Linked DNA regions of Homo sapiens: regions 2 and 3 are each linked to region 1. Evidence: promoter capture Hi-C in 16 types of primary human blood cells and fetal thymus (Javierre and others, 2016). All regions are on one chromosome and are shown on one strand. The core of a region is centred on a gene start or on the middle of the fragment in contact, and the rest is flanking DNA. Distances in the headings are between cores, read along the strand shown.

The links. The method cuts DNA at HindIII sites, captures the fragments that hold promoters and counts their contacts. A CHiCAGO score of 5 or more calls a contact.
Region 2: the fragment with the promoter of IKZF1 here is called in contact with the fragment with the promoter of HNRNPA2B1 in region 1 in 2 of 17 cell types (fetal thymus and activated CD4 T cells); the score reaches 12.2 in fetal thymus.
Region 3: a contact is called between the fragment with the promoter of HUS1 here and the fragment with the promoter of HNRNPA2B1 in region 1, in 1 of 17 cell types (total CD8 T cells). The highest score is 8.8, in total CD8 T cells.

What each region holds. Positions count from the first base shown.
Region 1 is chr7:26,197,876-26,201,995 of GRCh38, reverse strand. It overlaps HNRNPA2B1 (heterogeneous nuclear ribonucleoprotein A2/B1), which reads left to right and starts at 1,250. Exons shown (of 11, transcript NM_002137.4): 1 at 1,250-1,424. The coding sequence starts at 1,419. CBX3 (chromobox 3) reads right to left here and starts at 251. Exons shown (of 6, transcript NM_016587.4): 1 at 170-251. RefSeq lists a silencer at 1-366 and enhancers at 1,307-1,696, 862-1,834, 1,807-1,926, 1,835-2,808. The HindIII fragment of the contact is 8,290 bases long and covers 1-3,430 here.
Region 2 is chr7:50,303,007-50,307,126 of GRCh38, reverse strand. It overlaps IKZF1 (IKAROS family zinc finger 1), which reads right to left and starts at 2,411. Exons shown (of 8, transcript NM_006060.6): 1 at 2,205-2,411. RefSeq lists a silencer at 2,299-3,098 and an enhancer at 3,953-4,120. The HindIII fragment of the contact is 6,071 bases long and covers 1-4,120 here.
Region 3 is chr7:47,977,744-47,981,863 of GRCh38, reverse strand. It overlaps HUS1 (HUS1 checkpoint clamp component), which reads left to right and starts at 2,249. Exons shown (of 8, transcript NM_004507.4): 1 at 2,249-2,396; 2 at 3,048-3,175; 3 at 3,271-3,447. The coding sequence starts at 2,345. RefSeq lists an enhancer at 2,179-2,468 and silencers at 2,539-2,598, 2,679-2,728. The HindIII fragment of the contact is 1,329 bases long and covers 1,744-3,072 here.

The DNA.
Region 1 (4,120 bases), core at 1-2,500:
AGGCCAGCCGCGAGGCCACCGCCCGACCCTCCACTCCTTCCCGCAGCTCCCGGCGCGGGGTCCGGCGAGAAGGGGAGGGGAGGGGAGCGGAGAACCGGGCCCCCGGGACGCGTGTGGCATCTGAAGCACCACCAGCGAGCGAGAGCTAGAGAGAAGGAAAGCCACCGACTTCACCGCCTCCGAGCTGCTCCGGGTCGCGGGTCTGCAGCGTCTCCGGCCCTCCGCGCCTACAGCTCAAGCCACATCCGAAGGGGGAGGGAGCCGGGAGCTGCGCGCGGGGCCGCCGGGGGGAGGGGTGGCACCGCCCACGCCGGGCGGCCACGAAGGGCGGGGCAGCGGGCGCGCGCCCGGCGGGGGGAGGGGCCGCGCGCCGCGCCCGCTGGGAATTGGGGCCCTAGGGGGAGGGCGGAGGCGCCGACGACCGCGGCACTTACCGTTCGCGGCGTGGCGCCCGGTGGTCCCCAAGGGGAGGGAAGGGGGAGGCGGGGCGAGGACAGTGACCGGAGTCTCCTCAGCGGTGGCTTTTCTGCTTGGCAGCCTCAGCGGCTGGCGCCAAAACCGGACTCCGCCCACTTCCTCGCCCCTGCGGTGCGAGGGTGTGGAATCCTCCAGACGCTGGGGGAGGGGGAGTTGGGAGCTTAAAAACTAGTACCCCTTTGGGACCACTTTCAGCAGCGAACTCTCCTGTACACCAGGGGTCAGTTCCACAGACGCGGGCCAGGGGTGGGTCATTGCGGCGTGAACAATAATTTGACTAGAAGTTGATTCGGGTGTTTCCGGAAGGGGCCGAGTCAATCCGCCGAGTTGGGGCACGGAAAACAAAAAGGGAAGGCTACTAAGATTTTTCTGGCGGGGGTTATCATTGGCGTAACTGCAGGGACCACCTCCCGGGTTGAGGGGGCTGGATCTCCAGGCTGCGGATTAAGCCCCTCCCGTCGGCGTTAATTTCAAACTGCGCGACCGTTTCTCACCTGCCTTGCGCCAAGGCAGGGGGCGGGACCCTATTCCAAGAGGTAGTAACTAGCAGGACTCTAGCCTTCCGCAATTCATTGAGCGCATTTACGGAAGTAACGTCGGGTACTGTCTCTGGCCGCAAGGGTGGGAGGAGTACGCATTTGGCGTAAGGTGGGGCGTAGAGCCTTCCCGCCATTGGCGGCGGATAGGGCGTTTACGCGACGGCCTGACGTAGCGGAAGACGCGTTAGTGGGGGGGAAGGTTCTAGAAAAGCGGCGGCAGCGGCTCTAGCGGCAGTAGCAGCAGCGCCGGGTCCCGTGCGGAGGTGCTCCTCGCAGAGTTGTTTCTCGAGCAGCGGCAGTTCTCACTACAGCGCCAGGACGAGTCCGGTTCGTGTTCGTCCGCGGAGATCTCTCTCATCTCGCTCGGCTGCGGGAAATCGGGCTGAAGCGACTGAGTCCGCGATGGAGGTAACGGGTTTGAAATCAATGAGTTATTGAAAAGGGCATGGCGAGGCCGTTGGCGCCTCAGTGGAAGTCGGCCAGCCGCCTCCGTGGGAGAGAGGCAGGAAATCGGACCAATTCAGTAGCAGTGGGGCTTAAGGTTTATGAACGGGGTCTTGAGCGGAGGCCTGAGCGTACAAACAGCTTCCCCACCCTCAGCCTCCCGGCGCCATTTCCCTTCACTGGGGGTGGGGGATGGGGAGCTTTCACATGGCGGACGCTGCCCCGCTGGGGTGAAAGTGGGGCGCGGAGGCGGGAATTCTTATTCCCTTTCTAAAGCACGCTGCTTCGGGGGCCACGGCGTCTCCTCGGCGAGCGTTTCGGCGGGCAGCAGGTCCTCGTGAGCGAGGCTGCGGAGCTTCCCCTCCCCCTCTCTCCCGGGAACCGGATTTGGCGGCCGCCATTTTCATGGCTCGCCTTCCTCTCAGCGTTTTCCTTATAACTCTTTTATTTTCTTAGTGTGCTTTCTCTATCAAGAAGTAGAAGTGGTTAACTATTTTTTTTTCTTCTCGGGCTGTTTTCATATCGTTTCGAGGTGGATTTGGAGTGTTTTGTGAGCTTGGATCTTTAGAGTCCTGCGCACCTCATTAAAGGCGCTCAGCCTTCCCCTCGATGAAATGGCGCCATTGCGTTCGGAAGCCACACCGAAGAGCGGGGAGGGGGGGTGCTCCGGGTTTGCGGGCCCGGTTTCAGAGAAGATATCACCACCCAGGGCGTCGGGCCGGGTTCAATGCGAGCCGTAGGACAAAGAAACCATTTTATGTTTTTCCTGTCTTTTTTTTCCTTTGAGTAACGGTTTTATCTGGGTCTGCAGTCAGTAAAACGACAGATGAACCGCGGCAAAATAAACATAAATTGGAAGCCATCGGCCACGAGGGGCAGGGACGAAGGTGGTTTTCTGGGCGGGGGAGGGATATTCGCGTCAGAATCCTTTACTGTTCTTAAGGATTCCGTTTAAGTTGTAGAGCTGACTCATTTTAAGTAATGTTGTTACTGAGAAGTTTAACCCTTACGGGACAGATCCATGGACCTTTATAGATGATTACGAGGAAAGTGAAATAACGATTTTGTCCTTAGTTATACTTCGATTAAAACATGGCTTCAGAGGCTCCTTCCTGTAATGCGTATGGATTGATGTGCAAAACTGTTTTGGGCCTGGGCCGCTCTGTATTTGAACTTTGTTACTTTTCTCATTTTGTTTGCAATCTTGGTTGAACATTACATTGATAAGCATAAGGTCTCAAGCGAAGGGGGTCTACCTGGTTATTTTCTTTGACCCTAAGCACGTTTATAAAATAACATTGTTTAAAATCGATAGTGGACATCGGGTAAGTTTGGATAAATTGTGAGGTAAGTAATGAGTTTTTGCTTTTTGTTAGTGATTTGTAAAACTTGTTATAAATGTACATTATCCGTAATTTCAGTTTAGAGATAACCTATGTGCTGACGACAATTAAGAATAAAAACTAGCTGAAAAAATGAAAATAACTATCGTGACAAGTAACCATTTCAAAAGACTGCTTTGTGTCTCATAGGAGCTAGTTTGATCATTTCAGTTAATTTTTTCTTTAATTTTTACGAGTCATGAAAACTACAGGAAAAAAATCTGAACTGGGTTTTACCACTACTTTTTAGGAGTTGGGAGCATGCGAATGGAGGGAGAGCTCCGTAGAACTGGGATGAGAGCAGCAATTAATGCTGCTTGCTAGGAACAAAAAATAATTGATTGAAAATTACGTGTGACTTTTTAGTTTGCATTATGCGTTTGTAGCAGTTGGTCCTGGATATCACTTTCTCTCGTTTGAGGTTTTTTAACCTAGTTAACTTTTAAGACAGGTTTCCTTAACATTCATAAGTGCCCAGAATACAGCTGTGTAGTACAGCATATAAAGATTTCAGCTCTGAGGTTTTTCCTATTGACTTGGAAAATTGTTTTGTGCCTGTCGCTTGCCACATGGCCAATCAAGTAAGCTTCAGCTTTCAGTAATTGTTATCTTAGAGATTATGCCACGTGAATGTATTTTATTGTACATATGGTTAAGCTGAGTAATTCATATTCTGTATTGTCATATATCAAATATAGACATGTCCACCAAAAATTAAACTTTTTAAGCTTCGAGTGCTGCTGGTCATAAAAATTAATTTGTCCTGGTTATAAGAGTAATTTTTAAGGTTATTTCTAATGCATATCTTTAAATATTTTCGTAACTGAGAGTCATATGGAGAAACTTAGTGTTTGTTGTAAAAAGTTGTGTTTTTTTGGCTGAGATACTTAGAATCACCACCAGAGGGGGCAGTTAAGGGAAAATAAATGATACTTTTCAGATATTGAATAGTGAAATAAAAACTTTGGGTCATAAGTAATGAACCAAGAGTTATTTTCTGATGTTTAAAAATAGAAATTTGCGTTTTTAGGTTGTAGGGTTGAAATTTTTGGTAAAGATTCTTTAATAATCCTTTGATAATCACGGTCTACATTTGTTTATTTTTCCTTAGAAAGTTTTTTTTTTAATTAATAATTTAAGATAATTTAATGTTGAGTAAATTTATATCAAGCATTAATGACTTTGAAACTTGTGTAGATCAGCTGAGGCAATTTTTTGGTGTAACACAACTAATATGCAGTTTAACATATGGTTTAAATTTGATGTAAGTTTTTTTTT
Region 2 (4,120 bases), core at 1,162-3,661, about 24 Mb before region 1:
TCTTGTTTTAGTAAAAGTTTAAAAATAAAGGGGGCCTTTAATACTCATTTCAGGTCTGTTTGATGTTAAAACTCTTCCACACTGCCCCATGCCTCTCACTCCACGCTGTGTGCATGCTGTGTGTGTGCACGCTCTGTGTGCATATGTGCATATGCACATGGAATTTATTTCATGTATCTGTTAATAAATGCATAATCTTGAAGTGTGTGTATAAGTACATTAATATATAGAGAGTTCTTTCCTATTTCAAAATTTTTGACATTTATATTGAAAATATGCTATATTAACCACGCATGAAACACACACATCCAAATCAAGAACAAAAAATGTATCCAAACCAAAGAACCACTGTTCTCAAACTCCAAGTCTCTAGTCAAACAAGGAAGACAGTGGCCTGCAGTACAACAGGGCTTTAGACCTCTTGGCTAATACATTCACTGCGATCTTAGTTTTTCGACAAAGGAAATGGCTACAAACGGCCACAGCTGATCTTCTCTTTAGGAGCCTGTGTAAAACTCTTCGAAAGGGTCAAACCTAACACATCCAGACTTTTATCTGCAGCCCTTGTGGTCTCCTGGAGACCCTGAGGGTGGGTGATTATTGCTATGATGTTTCTGCATTAGGGGGGTGTGTAGTTTTCCAAGAGGTACCACTCTAATTAGAACACTGATGAATTAAACAAGTACTGGAGAGTTTCTAAACTCCTTCCTTCAACTCTCACCGTGAAACAAAAGGGGAAGAAAACATGACCATTTAGTTCAATAAAATGTTCTGGTCACCAGCTCTGATTGACTGTGAGACTTAAGAGTCACGTTTTTTTTCATGTAAAAAATGTATGAAATATGTTCATGGTGAAATTGGAAATCAGATACATTCCATCAAGCAAGAATAGTGTAGTATTTTTAATGTGACATCATTATTTGTATGTGTACACATTATTTCTTTAACTTGTTCTGCATTTTACAAGATGCCAGCGTAAGAAGGTGAATCTTCTTGTCATGAATATTTGCCTCGTGTACATTTTAAGCCATAGCCCAAATGATCTGATTTGTCACGGAAATAATTCTGACACATTCTAATATAAATAATACTGAAATTGTTACTTTTTAAAATTCCATATAAAAGATGAGTACAATAAAACTCATTGAACAAACATCTTCAAACAAAGAAATAAACTCAAGAGGACCCAGGACATTTCTATGTGGGTCCCCCCCACCCCTCGACTCATAACCAAATTGAACCTGGCCTTAAAAGCATTTGAATGTCTATGAAAGTTTAAATATCATACGCAGTATTTTCAAATTCCATAAATTTTCCTCTTTTAACAGAAGTTGATGGGACTAGTAAGGAGACATTTCCTCAACACCATTTTGTCTGGAATTTTAAAACAAGGTATCTCAAAGCTGAAATATACTGCCTGCGGCGCAGTGGGAAATTGTGAGTGGGTAACCTAAGCAAAGCGCACCGCATTGAAATTCAGTCTGGGTGGGCTGCAGTCCCTAGAGAGAGGGAAGCTGCATTTGAAAGCTGTGCCTGGTCAGACCCTATGGAATCGCTACGGTTTTCGGTCATTAGATGCCTCCAAATTAGAAGGAAAAACAAGCCCTCACGAGGTTCCTTAGGCATCAGCAGCGATGCTTGACAAATATTTAAAATACATTTCAAATATAACCGCAAGTAACCTGATGCCTTAATATTACTAAGGGTTTTCCTGAGAAGGTTTGGTGACTTGAGCGTCAAACCTGCGGTCAGCAAAAGGACTAACTTTTCAAAGCCGGGATAATTCCTCTCTTGCAGAAATTAAGTTCAGACTCGATCTCATCATATTTATAGTATAAAAAGAAAGCTCCCGGCTCAAATATAAGGAAAACTCTTTACACACGACTTTATAAAGGCTGACTTCCGTGGGTATATGTAGGTCTACATAAATTTAAATATGGTTGGGAGCTAGAACTCCTCTCCTGGTGACAGCGGGGCTGCTCAGAAGTGTCCCATGTCGGCCTGGTCCTGCACCTGCTGGCACAGTGCAGAGCAACAGACGCTTGACAGAAGTGAACTCTCTCACTGTCCTCAGAAAAGAGAGGCGGACCTGAGCGACACCAGGGTCTACCAACCTTACCGCTTTTCTTTACTGTGTTTTTTTTTTTTTAAATTCACCAGTTACCCCAAGTTTTCCTATTGAAATTCAATTTGAAAACACTCACGTGGATTTGTGCGTCGCGCTTTGGGGCCAAGACTGATCCTCGGGTGCGAAGAGCAACCTCGGAGCCGGGGCTCCCTCTGCCCTGCCAGGCTTGCCCGCCTCGCCGCGGCCGAGCGTCCCGCCCAGGCTGGGATGCGCCGCGCGGGGACCCAGGGGGCTTGCCGCAGTCACCGCCCCGGGCGCGGGCCGCGCAGTCACTTGTTAGAGTGTCCTGCTAACTTGGCCGCGGAGCTCTTCCCAGCTTTCTTTCACAATGACTTCCTGAAGTTGCTCACTCGCATTGTTCCCCATTTCTCCGCCACACTCCCCGCCCCCAGCCGGCTCAGACCAGGCTTTCGCGCTCCCGGCCGACCGGCTGCCCCGCGCGCACAGCGCCGCCCGCGGGCCCCGTACCTGGCCCCCTCCGCGCCGGCCGCCCCCGCCGCGCCCTTGCGTTGCCACCAGCTGCCGCCCAGAGCGGCGGGTGGCCAGAGCGCGCGCCCTGCCACCCCGCAAACTTTGGGGTGACGCACGCTGGCGGTCCCTGCTCGACCTGCCCCGCAGCCGGCTCGGCCCCGCGCGCACCTCTCGGCCGCCTCCCGGATCGCTGCTCCGGTACAGGGAGCGGGGCGCGCAGAAGGGCGCAGAGCGGGACACGGAGAGGGTGCGTCGTCCCGTCCCCGCCCCGTCGCCGAGTCCCCCGGCTCGCGCGGCGCGCGTCTCAGCCGCAACTCCGGGCCAGAGGGGCCGCGCACGAAAACTTTGCAATCGCGCCGGGCTCCGGCTCAGCCCCCAAAGGCCGCCGGGGCGGCGGCGGGTGCGGGCCGTACCTGCTGGCGCCGCCGCCGGCTGCAGCCCGCTCGCCCGCGCCGGGCCCGCTCGGCGCGCCGCCGCCACCCCCGCGCGCACCGCGCCCGGGCCCTCCCCTCGCCGCCGCGCTTCCTCATTCCAGCGCAGCATCGCGCCGCGGCCCCGCACGGGATGCGGCGGCCGGCGCTGTGTCCGCGGGCCGGGCAGCCCGGCTCGGCCGCGGCGCTGCGGGACCCGCGCGTAACCCGTGGGGGCGCGGCGCGGGCGACACGTGCGGGCCGCCAGGAGGGGGAGGGGGACGCGCGCCGCCGGGCCCGCCACCCTGCACCCGGGGCCGCTGGTCGGTCGGGGCACCCTCACGCTCGCCCCGCTGGCGAGACTGGAGGGACTCGGGACATCGTAAAGCACTTTCCCCAGTGTCTGGGAGCGCCCGCTGTACGCTCAGCTTCACGTCCCTGGAACTGGGGCCCCTTGGCTCCCGGGTTCAGGCTCCGGCCCCAGGATGCGAGTGCCCACCCGAGGGGGTGGGAAAAGTTGATCCTCCGCAAGGGAGGGGAAGGTGCAATTCATTTTCCCAGACAACCAATGGAATACCTCTCGTCTCTCTTCCCTCCCACCTGCTCACGGCAGAAGTTAGGATGGCGCCTTCCATGTTGGCCTGGGTGCACACACAAGTGCGTGCGGAAGGGTGGCTGCAGGCGGAGGTGACAGCGAAGCAATCCCGCAGCCCGCTCGACGGCTCTTTGCGTCTCAGACCTCTCCCTGGCGTGTAAGACACCGTGTGTCTCCGTAAAACGGGAATGCCACATCTGACAGCGCACCCCTTCGCCCTACGGGGAGCCCCTCACTCTAATTAGCCGGGCTCCACCCGAGCAGGAGCCAGCAATGTGTTCAGCTTGAGCAGGAGAGAAAAAGTCATGAATTCCACAAATGCAGCCTGGGCTCCCGCCAGGCGCTAGGGGAGGGGACCCAGAGGAGTGAGATGCGCCTCCTGCCCTTCCAGACTTGTAGGAGCCACCAGGAAGGCACAGAATAAAAATCCCGGGCACCCCTGTGAGGAGGAGCGCCCTGTGAAGAGGGCCGAGAACGTGCTCCTGCTTGGGCGCGGTGGTTCGGGAAGGCGTGAAG
Region 3 (4,120 bases), core at 1,000-3,499, about 22 Mb before region 1:
ACGAGGTCAGGAGATCGAGACCATCCTGGCTAACACGGTGAAACCCCGTCTCTACTAAAAATACAAAAAATTAGCCGGGCGTGGTGGCGGGCGCCTGTAGTCCCAGCTACTCGGGAGGCTGAGGTAGGAGAATGGCGTGAACCCGGGAGGCGGAACTTGCAGTGAGCCGAGATTGCGCCACTGCACTCCAGCCTGGGCGACAGAGCGAGATTCCGTCTCCAAAAAAAAAAAGAGTTATGCCAACATTTTTTTTTTTTTTTGAGACGGAGTCTCGCTCTGTCGCCCAGGCTGGAGTGCAGTGGCAGACCTCTGTTCACTGAAATCTCCGCCTCCTGGGTTCAAGTGATTCTCCTGCCTCAGATTCCTGAGTAGTTGGGATTACAGGCACAAGCTATCACGCCGGGCTAATTTTTGTATTTTTAGTAGAGACGGGGTTTCATCATGTTGGCCAGGCTGATCTCAGACTCCTGACCTCAGATGATCCACCCGCCTCGGCCTCCCAGAATGCTGGGATTACAGGAGAGAGCCATCCTGCCCTGCCTGTTGGCATAACTTTGAAAGTGATCTATTAAGTTTGGTTTGGCAAACACTCGCATATGACAATGAAGATTAGAATTTTGCTTCATGTTATAGTCTTAAAATAGGCAAAAACTGCAATTTTTGTATTTTGCACCTTTTTATTATTATTACACTTTAAGTTCTAGGGTACATGTGCACAACGTGCAGATTTGTTACATAGGTATGCATGTGCCATGTTGGTGTGCTGCACCCATCAACTCATCATTTACATTAGGTATTTCTCCTAACGCTATCCCTCCCCCAGGCCTCCACCCCCCAACAGGCCCCAGTGTGTGATATTCCCCTCCCTGTGTCCATGTGTTCTCATTGTTCAACTCCCACTTATGAGTGAGAACATGCGGTGTTTGGTTTTCTGTCCTTGTGATATTTTGCTGAGAATGATGGTTTCCAGCTTCATCCATGTCCCTGCAAAGGACATGAACTCATCCTTTTTTATGGCTGCATAGTATTCCATGGTGTATATGTGCCACATTTTCCTTATCCAGTCTATTATTGATGGACATTTGGGATGGTTCCAAGTCTTTGCTATTGTGAATAGTGCCACAATAAACATATGTGTGCATGTGTCTTTGAAAATTATCTGGGCCTGGCGCGGTGGCTCACGCCTATAATCCCAGCACTTTGGGAGGCCGAGGTGGGCAGATCACCTGAGGTCAGGAGTTCGAGACCAGCCTGGCCAACATGGCGAAACCCCGTCTCTACTAATAATACAAAAATTAGCCGGGCATGGTAGCTTGTGCCTGTAATCCCAACTACTTGGGAAGCTGAGGCAGGAGAATCCCTCGAACCCGGGAGGTGGAGGTTGCAGTGGGCCAAGATCACGCCATTGCACTCCAGCCAGGGCGACAGAGCCAGACTCCGTCTCAAAATCATCATCATCATCATCTGCATTATCATTATCTTGATTCTATGTGTCAAGTTAAAGACAAGGTTCTAGTCTATTTGCAAAGGACATTAAAAATAACAATTGTTAACACAGATAATCTTTAGTCTTTGAAAAACCAAATTAGATACAATTGTTGCTTCATTTCCCCCTTTAAAATTTTTCCTTTAAAAAAAATCCTAATGACATTATTTATGCTAATAAGAATTTTATCGGATGTAATAAAGTTCGTCTTGAGGCAAACTGCAGAATTATCACTTAACGTCAGTGTTCTTTAAGCTTCCCGACTTTACCAACTAGCCAGTAATATGTTCAATTTTTTTAGAAGTCATTTGAAACAATTTTCAGAACCTTAATCCACCAAGATGCTTCAATACCAAAGTACCAGTACCGTCATCTGAGGCTGGAGGGTTTAAAGCTGCTCTACCTTAGGTATATTTAAGATAATATTGTTTAACCTTTATAAACGATTAATTTTATTTGGATATTTTAAAATAACACTTGAAATAGGTGTCACAAAATTCTTTCAAAACGTGAATTCTCAGAACAACCTCCCCGAATCTGGGGCTTGAAGCCTCCGCCTCACTAAAAGTAGATCCCACCATTACCCGGCAGCGCGGAGGCATACCCGGAGACTGGGACCCCCACCTCCCCCGGGGCGTGACCTGTGATCCTTGACCCGTGACCCCACCTCCTCTAGGGCGTGACCCCCTAGCCCCACCTCCTCCGGGGCGTGGCCCGGAGATAACCCTGGTAAGAGTCGCGTAGCCCGAGCCGGGCGGAACCACTGTTCGCGCTGCCGTGTTTCCGGGCGGGGACACTCAGGGCGCGACGCTTTTCTGTTACCCACAGAGGCCCGCCGCGGCTGCGCCATCCGCGGCCATGAAGTTTCGGGCCAAGATCGTGGACGGGGCCTGTCTGAACCACTTCACACGTGAGCAGGGAGGCCGGAGAGGAGCGAGGGAGGAACGGAAGGAAGCAGTGAGCGCGCGGTGGGGACCGCGCAGGAGGATCAGAACGGGGATGGGCGCCGGAAGGGGCCGCGGGAGGATGGGGCCGGGATGGGGGTGCTGGTGTAGGCCGCGGGAGGGTGGGGCCGGGAGGGCGCGGGGCGGGTCGGAGGGCACTTGTGGGGATGAAGGCGGCTTTCAAGGGACGTTTCTGAAACTTGATTCCGATCACGTGGCTTTAAAAAAAAGCGGCCACTGCTCCCATAGACGGCTTTATCAGGCATTGACATACCTTCAAGGCCCCATTCGTCCCTCCACCCTGACAGTGCCTAACCTTGCATTTAACTGTGTATTGCAGTACCTAGTAGTCAATAAATCCATGTTGAATGAATGAATGACTGGTAGGTGCCTGTTTTCTTATTTGAACACTGATGATGTGTGCTGTACATCTCCCCTAGTTTGTTGGGAGAATTGCGTGACATCAGGGGTATTAAAGTACTTTCCAGTGTGATACCAACGTTAAGTGGTTATTTTTCCACCGAGAAGTTGATGAACAAGAAATTCTGCAAAATAAGTTGGTCTCTAGGATACATAATGTGCATTTTAGTAATTCCTTATTTTAACCCCTGCTTTAGGAATCAGTAACATGATAGCCAAGCTTGCCAAAACCTGCACCCTCCGCATCAGCCCTGATAAGCTTAACTTCATCCTTTGTGACAAGCTGGCTAATGGAGGAGTGAGCATGTGGTGTGAGCTGGAACAGGTGAGCAAAAGCTTCTGAGAGGCCTGCACACTCTGCAGATTGTCACTGGAAAGATCACATATACCCTCCCTCATCCCTCATTTTTTTTCCCTTAGGAGAACTTCTTCAACGAATTTCAAATGGAGGGTGTCTCTGCAGAAAACAATGAGATTTATTTAGAGCTAACATCGGAAAACTTATCTCGAGCCTTGAAGACTGCCCAGAATGCCAGGGCTTTGAAAATCAAACTGACTAATAAACACTTTCCCTGCCTCACGGTCTCCGTGGAGCTGGTGAGTAGGAGAGTCAGGGTTTCTAACACAGAAGTCTTGGCCTCGAAGGAATAGACATAGTTAGCCTAGCCTTTTTAACAATAAATACTGTTGAAAGCTGTTTGGTTTATTTAAATTTAAAGATCTGGTCCATAACTATATTTTGCATTAGAGTCAGTTCCTCCTCATTTTAAAATTGTGTTGTTATCATATGCATTCAGCTAGAATGCTGCTTTTTCCAAGCCGTGAAACTTCCAGCCTCTCTGTTTCTTGTAGTGGTATTGTCACCTTGTCTAGAAATCATGGTTTCTCTATCCATTTTCACCTTTGACATGTTTTCTCCCCACTCCCACCCTGCCTCATCTGCTATAATAACCTTTAAATGGCCCCTCGTTCTTCAGTACACGTATGTTTTATATGCTACTGCCAGATGAATTTAGTGCACAGCTGTCCTCCAAACACACAAATACACAAACTCATGCGCATACATACAATCCAGAGTTGCTCTTCCTACTCATAGAATGAGGTTCGTATTTCCTTTTTTTTGAGACGGAGTCTCTCTATCACCCAGGCTGGAGTGCAGTGGCGCGATCTCGGCTCACTGCAACCTCCATCTCCCGGGTTCAAGCGATTCTCATGCCTCAGCCTCCTGAGTAGCTGGAATTACAGGCACCCACCACCACACCCAGCTAAT